Regions from separate parts of the Homo sapiens genome. Here region 1 is linked to region 2. Evidence: promoter capture Hi-C in human tissues and cell types (Jung and others, 2019). All regions are on one chromosome and are shown on one strand. Each heading gives the region's core, a stretch centred on a gene start or on the middle of the fragment in contact. The rest is flanking DNA. Distances are from core to core; before and after follow the strand shown.

Region 1 (6,663 bases), core at 430-2,929, 410 kb after region 2:
GTGAAACTGTAAGCCCATTCAACTTGTTTTTCTTTTCTTTTCTTCTCTTTTTTTTTTTTTTTGAGTCTCACTCTGTCGCCCAGGCTGGAGTGCAGTGGCGCCATCTTGGCTCACTGCAAGCTCCGCCTCCCGGGTTCACGCCATTCTCCTGCCTCAGCCGCCCGAATAGCTGGGAGTATAGGCACCCACCACCACGCCCGGCTAATTTTTTGTATTTTTAGTAGAGACGGGGTTTCACCGTGTTAGCCAGCATGGTCTCGATCTCCTGACCTCGTGATCCACCTGCCTCGGCCTCCCAAAGTGCTGGGATTACAGGCATGAGCCACCACGCCCAGCCTAAACCTCTTTTTCTTTATAAGTTACCCAGTCTCGGGTATGTCTTTATTAGCAGTGTGGGAACTGACTAATACAGCATGTAGGAACTATGAAATATGAATTGTGTAATTTTATTGATTCTGCTTATGAGTTCAATGTTTTCATATTTGCATTTAAAATTTTGCATTGCACAATGTAAAAGTAAATGGTAAAATCCACGTGAATAATGTAAAATTTCATTTATTTATTTTACCTAGAATGATATTAAATAGCAATTAAAACAGCATTATGACAAGTCAAGAGAGAGATAGTGGAAGGAAAGAAAAAGCTTTATATTTAGTATCTTTAACAGCATTCCCCCCCCACACTGCACATTTTGAAAAAGGGATCCTGCAAATTATGTAGCCATCCCTGACTAAGATAGGGAAATGTCTTTGAATTTTAGACTTGAGAAGAGACTATGAAAAGTCTCTCAGAGAACCCTGCTCTGCTCACCACCCATCATATTGTATGTGAAGATGGTAAGAGCTACAGGGAGTCTTAAGGTCACACAGGGAGCAAGTAGATAAACCAAGACTGGTGCCCATGCCATCTGACTCCATTCCTTCCTAGTCTAGCATTCTTCACCTAATGTGTGCTCTTCCTTCTGTCAGAAATCCCACCTTATGACTTGGAGATAAGATTTCCCCTTTGCAATTGAAACCATCCAATCAGTACTTGGCTGATGATGTGCAATTGATATGCCTTCCATCCAAGGCCAGGGAGACTTGGCCAGCACTTGGTTAAAAGTAATAAATAGTTTTCAGGGGAAAATCTAGTGGTCGGTGTTTTAGTCCTTGTCTTTCTTGACCTAACAGCAGCATTTATTTATTTATTTATTATTTTTTATTTCCATAGGTTTTTGGGGAACAGGAGGTGTCTGGTTACATGAATGAGTCCTTTAGTGGTGATATCTGAGATTTTGGTGCACCTGTCACTCGAGCAGCATACACTGTACTCAATTGGTCGCTTTTTTTTTTTTTTTTTTTTTTTTTTGACAGAGTCTCGCTCTGTCGCCCAGGCTGGAGTGCAGTGGTGCGATCTCGGCTCACTGCAAGCTCCGCCTCCTGGGTTCATGCCATTCTCCTGCCTCAGCCTCCCTTGTAGCTGGGACTACATGCGCCCGCCGCCAAGCCCGGCTAATTTTTTGTGTTTTTAGTAGAGACAGGGTTTCACTGTGTTAGCCAGGATGGTCTCGATCTCCTAACCTCATAATCTGCCCGCCTCGGCCTCCCAATCTGCCCGCCTCCACCTCCCAAAGTGCTGGGATTACAGGCGTGAACCACTGCACCCAGCCTAATTTGTAGTCTTTTATCCCTCAACCCCTCCCACCCTTTCCTCCCGAATCCCCAAAGTCCATTGTATAATGTATAATTCTTTTTTTTTTTTTTTTTTTTTTTTTTGGGGCAGAGCCTGTTCTGTCACCCAGGTTAGAGTGCAGTGGTGCCATCCCGGCTCACCACAACCTCTGCCTCCTGGTTCAAGGGATTCTCATGTCTCAGCCTCCCACATACCTGGGACTACAGGCATGTTCCACCACGCCTAGCTAATTTTTGTATTTTTAATAGAGACAGGGTTTTGCCATGTTGGCCAGGCTGGTCTTGAACTCCTGGCCTCAGGTGATCCACCCACCTTGGCCTCCCAAAGTACTAGGATTACAGGTGTGAGCCACCACACCTGGCCCATTGTATCCTCCTTATTATGCCTTGGCATCCTCATAGCCTAGCTCCTACTGATGAGTGAGGAACATATGATGTTTGGTTTTCTATTCCTGAGTTACTTCATTTAGAATAATGGTTTCCAATTCCATCCAGGTTGGTGCAAATACCATTATTTTATTCCTTCTTATGGCTGAGTAGTATGCCACAGTGTGTGTATATATATATATATATATATGTCTCACATATATCACAGATTTTTATCCATTAATTTCATTGATTAATAGGCATTTGGGCTGGTTCCATATTTTTGCAATCGCGAATTTTTAGCAGCAGAATTTAATCACGCGCTCTTCTGTCAAACACTTGTGTGTTTTGGCCTTTAGGACCCAACCTCCTACCTTGCTGGCTGCCCTCCCTTAGTCGCCATCACAGATTCCCCTCTACCTTCCTGACTTTGTATCAGTGAAGTGTCTCAGGGGTCAGCTCTCAGACCTTTTCTCTTTTTCTGTCCATACTCATTCCTTTAGTAACCTCATGTAGCCTAATGACTCTTAACACTATCTATATGCTGATTACTCATCTGTTTATACTTCTAGCCCTGACCTCTCCCTGAATTTGTTCTAACATGTCTAACTGCTTTCTTGACATCTGCACTCTGATGTCCAACGAAATCACACACTATATCTGTAACTGAGCCCTTGAATCTCTCCCCCAGCTCCAAACTAAGTCCTACTTCAGTTAATGGCAGCATCAGGTCAAAACCCTGCGGCTCTCTCGATGCTTTCTCATCTTTCACACCTCACACCCAATCCATGAGCAAATCCTAAAGCCTCTACCTTCAAAATACATTCAGAATATGGTCATTTTCCTCCACCATTACTGCTTCACCTTGGCCCAAATCACCTGCATTATGCCAGTAATCTTTGAATTGGTCTCATTTTGGTCCTCATCTCTCTTTTACCCAGAAGGGTCTCCTTGAACCACATGTCGGAGTGTGTCACTCCTCTATTCAAAACCTCTCAATAGTTTCTCATCTTACTCTAAAGAATAACCCAAACCAAACAATCCAAACAAGCCACAGAGCCTGACACCTTCAGGCATTCAGCACCAGGGCCTTAGGACTTCAGCTCTCTTGTCCCCTTTGTCCCCTCTCTCACTCTGCTCTGGCCATGTGGCCACCTTGCTCTTTCTCCAACTCACTGAGGACTCTCCCACCTCAGGCCCTTCGTCCTTGCTGGCCCTCTCCCTGGAATGCTCTTTCCCCAGGAATCTGGAAGGCTCCTTCCTTCACCTGCTATGGGTCATTATCAGATGTAACCCCTCTCATGAGGCCTTCTCTGGTCACCTTGTTTAACACGGTGGCCCCTTCTGCTCCCCATGCACATTCCCCATCTCCCATCCCTGATTTTTATTCCCCATAACACTTATCTCCATCTAACATGCCATCCAGTTGACTTTATTTTCTGTTCATTGTCTGTTTCCCCCTGTTGGAATGTAATTGCTTATTTGTCTGTCTTGATGTATTTTGTTCAAATATCTAAGCCTGCCTTGCGGTGGGCTGTGGTCTAGGTAACGTGATGGCCAAGGATTTACCAAGGAATAATGAACCACCTCCCCACCTCGACCAAGCTCCATGAATGTCTTTGACTCCATATTCCAGCCTCTACCTGGAATGTCCTTTGTCTGTTTCTCTGAATACCATGCCATCCTTCAAGGTCTGGTTGAAAAGTGATCTCCTCACGGAACACAAGGTCAGGAGATCAAGACCATCCTGGCTAACACAGTGAAACCCTGCTAAATTATGCCCCTTTTTGTTTTATTCACAGACTTTAGAACCAAATCTCAGGGTAACATACAATCTCTCTTCCTTCCTTCCTCCCTTCCTTCCTTCCTTCTTTCATTCCTTCTCCCTCACTCGCTCACTCCTTTCCTCCCTTTCTTTCTTCTCCATTCCTTCTTCCTCACTCACTCACTCCCTTCCTCCCTTGCTTCCTTCTTTCATTCCTTCCTCCTTCCCTCCCTCCCTTTTCCCCTTTCTTTATTCTCTCTTTCCTTCCATCATGCTTTCTGTAAGACTGAAGGGATCATACTATGTATATCATTTGACACTTAGTTTTTTTCAAGATGACAAATATCTTGACATATTTTTCTATCAGCATGGAGTAGCCTATAGTACTAAAGTTTATTAAACCAGTCCCTGCTGATCACACAAAAGTATTGCAAAGTCTTGGCACACCGTCTTTGCGCACTTGCTTAGGTTTTTGGGTAGGTCAAGTTCCTTAAAGTGGGTTGCTGGGTCAAAGGGGATGCACATTTTTATTTGCTAAATTGCTGGGTTGCCTTCCAAATCCATACCACTGTATACTTTAGTATGTGTTCATTTTTATCTCCATAAGGCATCATATAAGAGAGCTCTCCTTCTGCATTTCGCTTAGGTTTTTGGAAAAGTCAGTCAGTCAAGGTCGGGAAAGAAGAGGATCGGGGAAGGCTTCCAAGAGGAGATCACTTTTCTTTCTTTCTTTCTTTTTTTTTTTTTTTTTGAGACGGAGTGTCGCTCTGTCGCCCAGGCTGGAATGCAGTGGCGCCATCTCTGCCCACTGCAAGTCCGCCCGGGTTCATGCCATTCTCTTGCCTCAGCCTCCCGAGTAGCTGGGACTACAGGTGCCTACCACCGTGCCCAGCTAATTTTTTTGTATTTTTAGTAGAGACGGGGTTTCACCCTGTTAGCCAGGATGGTCTCCATCTCCTGACCTGATCCGCCTGACTCAGCCTCCCAAAGTGCTGGGATTACAGGTGTGAGCCACCGTGCCCAGCTTGGTTGTTCTTTACTTTATGCTCCTTCACAGTGTTTGAATTGTATACAAGGACACTTTTACCACAAGGAGTGATATAAATGTTTGAAAAATCACCTCATAGATGCAGAAGTAGAAAGTATACATGAAGAGTGTAAATTAGGTTTTACTTTAAAAGTAATCAATTGTTTAGAAGTGTTAAAAGAAACTGTGGATGAGAAATTGTTACATAATTATCTTTTCAATGAAAATGACAATCGGTTTTGTTTCTCCTCACTTCCCTCATTTCCACCCCCCCTTCCTTCACTCCTTTCCCCTTCTCTTTCCCCTCTTCCTGTGGATGAGAAATTGTTACATTGTTATTAACTTTTCAGTGAAAATGACAATCAGTTTTGTTTCTCCTCACTTCCCTCATTTCCCCCTCCCTCCTCCCTTCACTCCTTTCCTTCCTTTCTCCTTCTCCTTCTCCTTCCCCTCTTCCTTCCTCCTCCTTCCTCCACTCCTGCCTTCCCTTCTTCCTTTGTTGTTGTTGTTGGAAGCTGCAGGTATTTCAAGGAGCCAGCAATCCCATTGCAGAACTGATGTAAAGGGACAAACAGCATGGAATTAGGGCTGCCCAAATGTAATGCATGCTACACAAAAATGCTTCCAGTGAGTCTATCTGGGGATGAGGGCAGGGAGAAGGAGGAGAGGTTGGCTTTTAGCTTCACATTGTCCCCGTGCACTCCTGGACCTGCCATCTGCCCCATGAAAGGCCCCAGTGTTCAGATTGCTGCTGCTGAAACTCCCCTTAGGATCCAGAGTGGGCCCAGGCTCATGGTGCCCTGTGTTCTAGGAGCCACATGATTTCACAAACTCACCCTTGCATTTGCTACATTCTTAGCAGGGCCCTGGAACAAAGGAGACATTGAATAAAAACAGTTGACATTTATTAAGCTCTTACTATTATGTGCCTGACTTAGGTTACCTTTTATAATTTCTCAAAAATCCTATGAGGCAGGTATGTAAATCTATATTTTGCAGATACAGAAACTGAGTCATAGGCTAAGTAATTTCCCTAGGCTTGTAGATCTGGGATTTGAAACCGGGTTCTTAGACACTAAGGCTAGTCCTTTAACTACACCCTTTACTGCCTCCAAAAATTATGCTGAATGCTCTGATATCCTGTCAGGAGATATTTTTCTCTAATAAAATAGGGATGGGAGGTGTGTGTTGGGGGAGCTTTCTAGCTTGTCATTCCTTATGGGCCAGCAGGTTGGTGAGGATTAGAGCCAAAAATCTTTGGGGAAGAGAAAAATGGAACCACATGGTCTGTTCCTGAATTCTCCAACAGATCCCTTTGGTCCCAACCTCCAAGTGAGGCTCATTTTATTCTCTCTAGCTCTACACCCTAGTTTCTCTAGTCTGGAGTCATAAACACTGGTGTATGCAAATTAGGCATCAGAGAAAAGAGAACGGCTGTCATTTGCTACAGTTGGAGTAACCACTAGAAAGATGGCAGAATCTGTAAAAGAAGAGAGCGTAACAGTGACAGCAGTGGTGGGCACGTTGTTCTCTAATGCCCATTCTCCCTTGTTCCAAGGTTAAAGAACTCCTAATTTGTAGTTTTATACATGGTTGTCCAGAGTCAAAGCTGTATATTCCAGACTGTTTTCAAATTAGTTGTGACCATATGATTATGTTCTGGTAAGATTTAAGTGGAAGTGTCATCTGATAACTGCTGGGAGACTTCCTTAAAGGGGAGCTGACACATTCTCTCCCTTCTTCTTCATCCTTTTTTTCTTTCTGTTGGATGAAATGCAAATTGGATGGCAGGATAGGGCAGCCATCTTGGGCCATGAGGCAGGTATAGCAAT
Region 2 (5,848 bases), core at 2,168-4,667:
TTGAAAATAGACAGATGTAGCTGGGCGTGGTGGCTCACGCCTGTAATCCCAGCACTTTGGGAGGCTGAGGCGGGTGGATCACAAGGTCAGGAGATCAAGACCATCCTGGCTAACACGGTGAGACCCCATCTTTACTCAAAATACAAAAAAATCAGCCGGGCGTGGTGGTGGGCGCCTGTAGTCCCTGCTGCTCTGGAGGCTGAGGCAGGAGAATGGCATGAACCCAGGGGGTGGAGCCTGCAGTGAGCGGAGATCGCGCCACTGCACTCCAGCCTGGGTGACAGAGCAAGACTCTGTCTCAAAAAAAAAAAAAAAAAGAAAATAGACAGATGCTGAGATGTTTCAGTCACTACTCCTCAGAGCAGGAGTCAAGCAAACAATGGCCCCTGGGCTAATCCAGCCCACAGTCAGTTTCTGAATGGCCCACGAGCCAAGAATGTTTTTTTACATTTTTGCATTGTTAAATAATGGTAAACAATCTAAGTAAGCATAATATTTTGTGAAATGTGAAATTGTAAACTTGTGAAATTGTATGATTCAAATTTCATTGTCTGGAACACAGCCGTGCTCATTGGTTTTCCATATGGACTTGGGCTGCTTTTTGTCCTACAACAGCGGGGTTCTGTGGCTGCAATAGACTATATGTCTAGAAAACTCTAAAGTATTTACAATCTGGCCTTTTACAGAAAAGCTCGTTGGCCCCTGTCTTGGGGGAGCATTGGTCAATCTACTAAAATGCTCTGAGTTGAGCCTGTCCTTGGCCAAGCACTGCCAGATCTCCCATCAGCTCTTCTCCCTTTAATCATATGCAAAGACCCCAAGCTGGCTAGGAGGGAGTTTCTCTCCATCCTCCCAGCCACAGGACACTCTTTTCATTCATCCCCTCGCCATTACAGTGTCTGCTGTTCTAAAGACCCAGAGACCAAGAGAGGTCTCTTGAGTGGACGTAGATGAGCACCAGTCCTAGCAGAAGAGAATTGGGGTGTGGCTCTTCCCACTTTTTAAGGCCTCTGTAAAATCACTTTTTCTGCTCAGCTACATGGGGCCAGAGGATGGGATTGAGCTGGTTTTTGGCTTCAAGATCGCTTGAGCCTCCTTGCATGTTTCACTAAACAGTCCTAAAAATGCAATGTCTGATTGGATGTCCCAAATAAAATTCATTTCAAACTTCCAGTTGTTCTGCTTCAGTCACCCCAGCCAGGACAGTTGCCCATCTCCACTTCCCCTCATACCATTTAGAAAATGAGTCAGATCTGTGAAGGAAGCATTTGCTAAGCACCCACTGTATAATGTGATGCTGGGCTGACACTCTCCAGGTGCAGAGGGGAAGATACAGCCTCTGCTGCAGTGGGACCCTGGCTGAGGGGGTCACACATCAAAACCCCACAAGAACACCCACTGGGCAAGAATCAAGAGGCATCAGCATTAGCACCATCACAGGGAACACAACCAATAACTGCATGGGACATAGGGACCCATGGAGAGAGCCGGGAGGCTCCTCAGATGAGAAAGGGCTGAGGTGAGGCATTGAAAGAGGACAGCAGACAAGGGGAGGCCAATCCTAACAAGAGGGCCAGCATCAGCTCAGGACTGGCAACAAAGCAGGAATGCGCAGAGCTTGTAAGAAGCCAGGAGAAGACTCTTGATAAGGAGCAGAAGAAAAGAATATAAGGTGGGGCTGAGCTGGGGTCCTTCAGTGCCAGACTGAACCGGCTGTCATAATAGGTGACATATTGTAATGTCCTGGAATTACAGAGAGGAGCCATGAAGTCGGGGATTTAGGAAAGGAGCCCCAGCGAGTAGGCAACCAATGTACATCAGAAATGATCAACATTCCCAATGTTGTCTACATTCACTTTTTTTTTTTTGAGATGGAGTTTCATTCTTGTTGCCCAGGCTGGAGTGCAGTGGTGTGATCTAGGCTCACTGCAACCTCTGCCTCCCAGGTTCAAGTGATTATCCTGCCTCAGCCTCCTGAGTAGCTGGGATTACAGGCATACACACCACCACGTCCAGCTAATTTTTGTATTTTTAGTAGAGATGGTTTCACCATGTTAGTCAGGCTGGTCTCGAACTCCTGACCTCAGATGATCTGCCAGCCTTGGCCTCCCAAAGTGCTGGGATTACAGGCGTGAGACACCGCACCCAGCCTACATTCAGTTTTAAGCACACACACAGGAAATTTATCTCCAGAAAACTTCGATCCACTTACCGGCCACCAGGCCATATCACGACCAGCGAGGAAGAAGCCTCCTATAGTACCTCGGTTGGTCTTCAGCATCGCCTGAGCAGAAGGGAAGACAGGTGAGGGTCAAGCCCCAGCAAGTGCACCCAGACACCCCAGAGGCTCTGGCCAGGGTGCTGAGAGGGGTGACTTCAGCACTCCTACAGAGAGAAACATTTCGCTGGAAAGTGTTCTATAGCATCAAATTTTAAAGGACTTCAAAAACAGTCGCTTTGTAAAAACCCAGGGCTGGAAGAACTTAAAAAAATCATAATCCTTAACTTCTATCTTAACTGCTCTGATTATTCTCACTTATGAAAACCATGTGAGGTATCATTGAGCCATGCTTGCAATAAAATTTGCAGTCTCGGCCGGGCACGGTGGCTCACGCCTGTAATTCCAGCACTTTGGAGGGCCGAGGCGGGTGGATCACAAGGTCAAGAGATCGAGACCATCCTGGCCAACATGGTGAAACCCCGTCTCTACTAAAAATACAAAAAGTTAGCCGGGCGTGGTGGCGCATGCCTGTAGTCCCAGCTACTTGGGAGGCTGAGGCAGGAGAATGGCGTGAACCCAGGAGGCGGAGCTTGCAGTGAGCCAAGCAAGCGCCACTGCACTCCAGCCTGGACGACAGAGCAAGACTCCGTCTCAAAAAAAAAAAAAATTTGCAGTCTCAAATTTATTAAAATAAAAAAATTCAACATAAATGAAGAGTCCAACTCACTAAATCAGAAAGTGAGCAAACAACAAAAGAAAGCGAAAGAAATGCGATAATAAAAATACACTCTTTGTCCATTATGCCAGGTGTTGGGGATGCATAGTAAATCTGAAGGTCCCGGTGCTGGCTGTGTGCACACGATGGGGTTATTAGGAGAATACATTAGTTCATTGTAAGCGTTATTTATGCAACACACAAGAAAATGATTCTGATAACACAATGACATTTGTGAAAAGCTTTGTCACAACCACACCCCTTCCCCCCTTAAGATACCCCCTCCTAAACCTTGTGCCCACCCTAAAAGCCACTGGGATTCCACCTACCCACAGCCCAACAGCCATCACCACCAGAAAATAGATGACAATGACTGAGATGTCAGCAGCATTTCGGATGTGGTCAGACAATGGAGGTGGCTCTGGGGTCTCAGCTATGGTGCTGGGGCTAACCGTACTGGCCATGGCTGCAGGCAGTGCTATACCCATTCCACGCATGAGCCATCTTTATATAAGTTCTGGGTTAATGATCAGCCTCAGGCAGGTGGGGCGAGATATCAGAGCCAGCTCCTGGATATGGAGACCTTTAAACCTCTTCTCCAAAGCTGTGGCACCCCAGCCCTCCACCAGTGAGTGCTAGCCTAGGTAGAGTGTGAGAATGAGGGATGCAGGGCCAGAAATGAGGGGAGAATTTGAGGTGGAGCATGGGGCGTTCTCTGAGTGCAAAGACAGGGTCTTTAAAGAGATTTGCCCAGGTGGAGGGGGGATTTGAGAGAAATGAAGACAGACAAGGAGGGGAGAAGGACAGACTAGAAGGTACCAGAAACCAGCCAGGAGGGACCGAATGCAATGGTCCTTCAGAGAACAGATACAGTTTCTGACCAATGAGCTATATCCCTTGACAGTGAAGTGAATTATGCCTTTCGTGGATTCCAAAGTCCCACATTTCTCTGAAGTGGGTTTCATGTGCCACAAAAAGACATTGGTGGCCTGTATAGGAAAGGAAGTGGCTCTTCAAGCACCATATGTGGTGAGTTGAGGGCAGAGCTGTGGAGAGCGCTGGGTCAGAGGGTTGTACAAAGAGTGAATCAACCTGGAAGCATGTGATGGGGATCATGAGGACTCAGGAAACAAGACTCCTGGACTACAGCCAAGAAGAAGTTAGAAGTAAAGCCTATGCGGTGGCTGACACCTGTAATCCCAGCACTTTGGGAGGCCAAGGAGAGAGCATCACTTGAGGCCAGGAGTTCAAGACCAGCTTGGGCAACATAGGGAGTCTTTGTCTCTATAAAAATTAGCTGAGTGTGGTGATGCACACGTATGGTCCCAGCTACTTGGGAGGCTGAAGAGGGAGGATCACCTGTGACTGGGAGGTCAAAGCTATAGTGAGCCATGATCACGCCGCTGCACTCTAGCCTGGGCAACTGAGCAAGATCCTGTCTCAAAAACAAACAAAAAAAACAACAACAAAAAAACAAAACCAAAAACACACATGAAAAAACGGAAAGCCCAGAAATTCTTCTTTTATACTTCATTTTTTATTGTGGCAAAGCATACATAGCATAAAATTTACCATTTTAATCCCTTTTAAGTGTACAATTCATTGGCATTAAGTACATTTACAGTGTTATGCAGCCATTACCACTATCCATTTCCAGAACTTTTTCATCATCTCCAAACAGAAGTATGTACCCACTAAAAACTAACTCCCCATCCCTCCCTCTCTCCAGGCCCTGGTAACCTCTGTTATTCTTTCTTACTATATAAATTTGCCTATTCTAGGTACCTCATACAAATGAAATCATACAATATTTTCCTCTTTGGTTTATTTCACTTAGTATGACATTTTCAAGGTTCATCCATATTGTAGCATGTATCAGAATTTCCTTCCTTTTTAAGGCTGAATAATATTCCAATACTCATATATACCACATTTTGTTTATCCATTCAACTGTTGATGGGCATTCAGGTTCTTTCTATACTTGGCTATTATAAATAATGCTGCTGAGAACACTGGTGTGCAAGGATCTGTTTGAATCCCTACTTTCAATTCTTTTGAGTCTATATGTAGAAGTGGAATTGCATGTGATAATTCTGTGTTTAACTTTTTGTAGAACTGCCAAACTGTTGTTCACAGCAGCTGCACTATTTTACATTCTTTCCACAGTGCATAGGAGAGTTAATTTCTCCATATCCTCTTCAATACTTGTCATTTATGTTTTAATTATAGACAGGCTAGTAGGTATCAAGTGGGTATCACAATATAGTTTTGATTTACACTTCTAACACAATCACTAGTAGTGTTGATTTTTTCATGTGCTTATAGCCATTTGTGCATCTTCTTGGAGAGAGATATATTCAACTTCTTCATCCATTTAAAAATTATGTTGTATTCTTTTTTACACTGCTCCTTGTGGAGCAGGACTACCTCATTGGCAGTGTACCCAGAATAGCCTTATGTTGTATTTTTGTTGCTGTTGAATTGTAGAATTTCCTTTTTATTTCTCAGAGACAGGGTCTCATTCTGTCACCCAGGCTGGAGTGCAGTGAGGTAAGCATGGCTCAGTGCAGCCTCAACCTCCTGGGCTCAAGTGATCCTCCCATCTCAGCCTCCACCATAGCTGGGACCACAGGCACATGCCACCCATGCCTGGCTAACTTCATTTTTTTAGAGGTGGGGGTCTTACCATGTTGTCCAGGCTGGTCTTGAACACCTGGGCTCAAGTAATTCCTTGTCTCAGCCTCTCAAAGTGCTGGGATTACAGGCATGAGCCACTGAACCCAGCAAGGTTTTCTTTTTTTTTTAATTTTTTTTTTTGAGACAGAGTTTCACTCTTGTTGCCCAGGCTGGAGTGCAATGGCACAATCTTGGCTCACTGCAACCTCCATTTCCTGGGTTCAAGCGATTCTCCT

The links. The method cuts DNA at HindIII sites, captures the fragments that hold promoters and counts their contacts. A contact is called where the count stands out against the background at its distance.
Region 1: a fragment that was not itself captured here is called in contact with the fragment with the promoter of SLC5A4 in region 2 in 1 of the 25 tissues and cell types used here (lymphoblastoid cells).

The regions. Positions count from the first base shown.
Region 1 is chr22:32,663,261-32,669,923 of GRCh38, forward strand. All of the region lies in intron 6 of SYN3 (synapsin III), which reads right to left. It overlaps LOC105373002 (a long non-coding RNA gene), which reads left to right. Exons shown (of 4, transcript XR_938176.4): 4 at 1-1,306. Among named protein-coding and RNA genes, the nearest start is that of SYN3-AS1, 92 kb to the left of the region's middle. The HindIII fragment of the contact is 5,159 bases long and covers 1-4,259 here.
Region 2 is chr22:32,251,930-32,257,777 of GRCh38, forward strand. It overlaps SLC5A4 (solute carrier family 5 member 4), which reads right to left and starts at 3,418. Exons shown (of 15, transcript NM_014227.3): 1 at 3,266-3,418; 2 at 2,213-2,284. The coding sequence starts at 3,400. All of the region lies in intron 2 of SLC5A4-AS1 (SLC5A4 antisense RNA 1), which reads left to right. The HindIII fragment of the contact is 10,747 bases long and covers 1-5,848 here.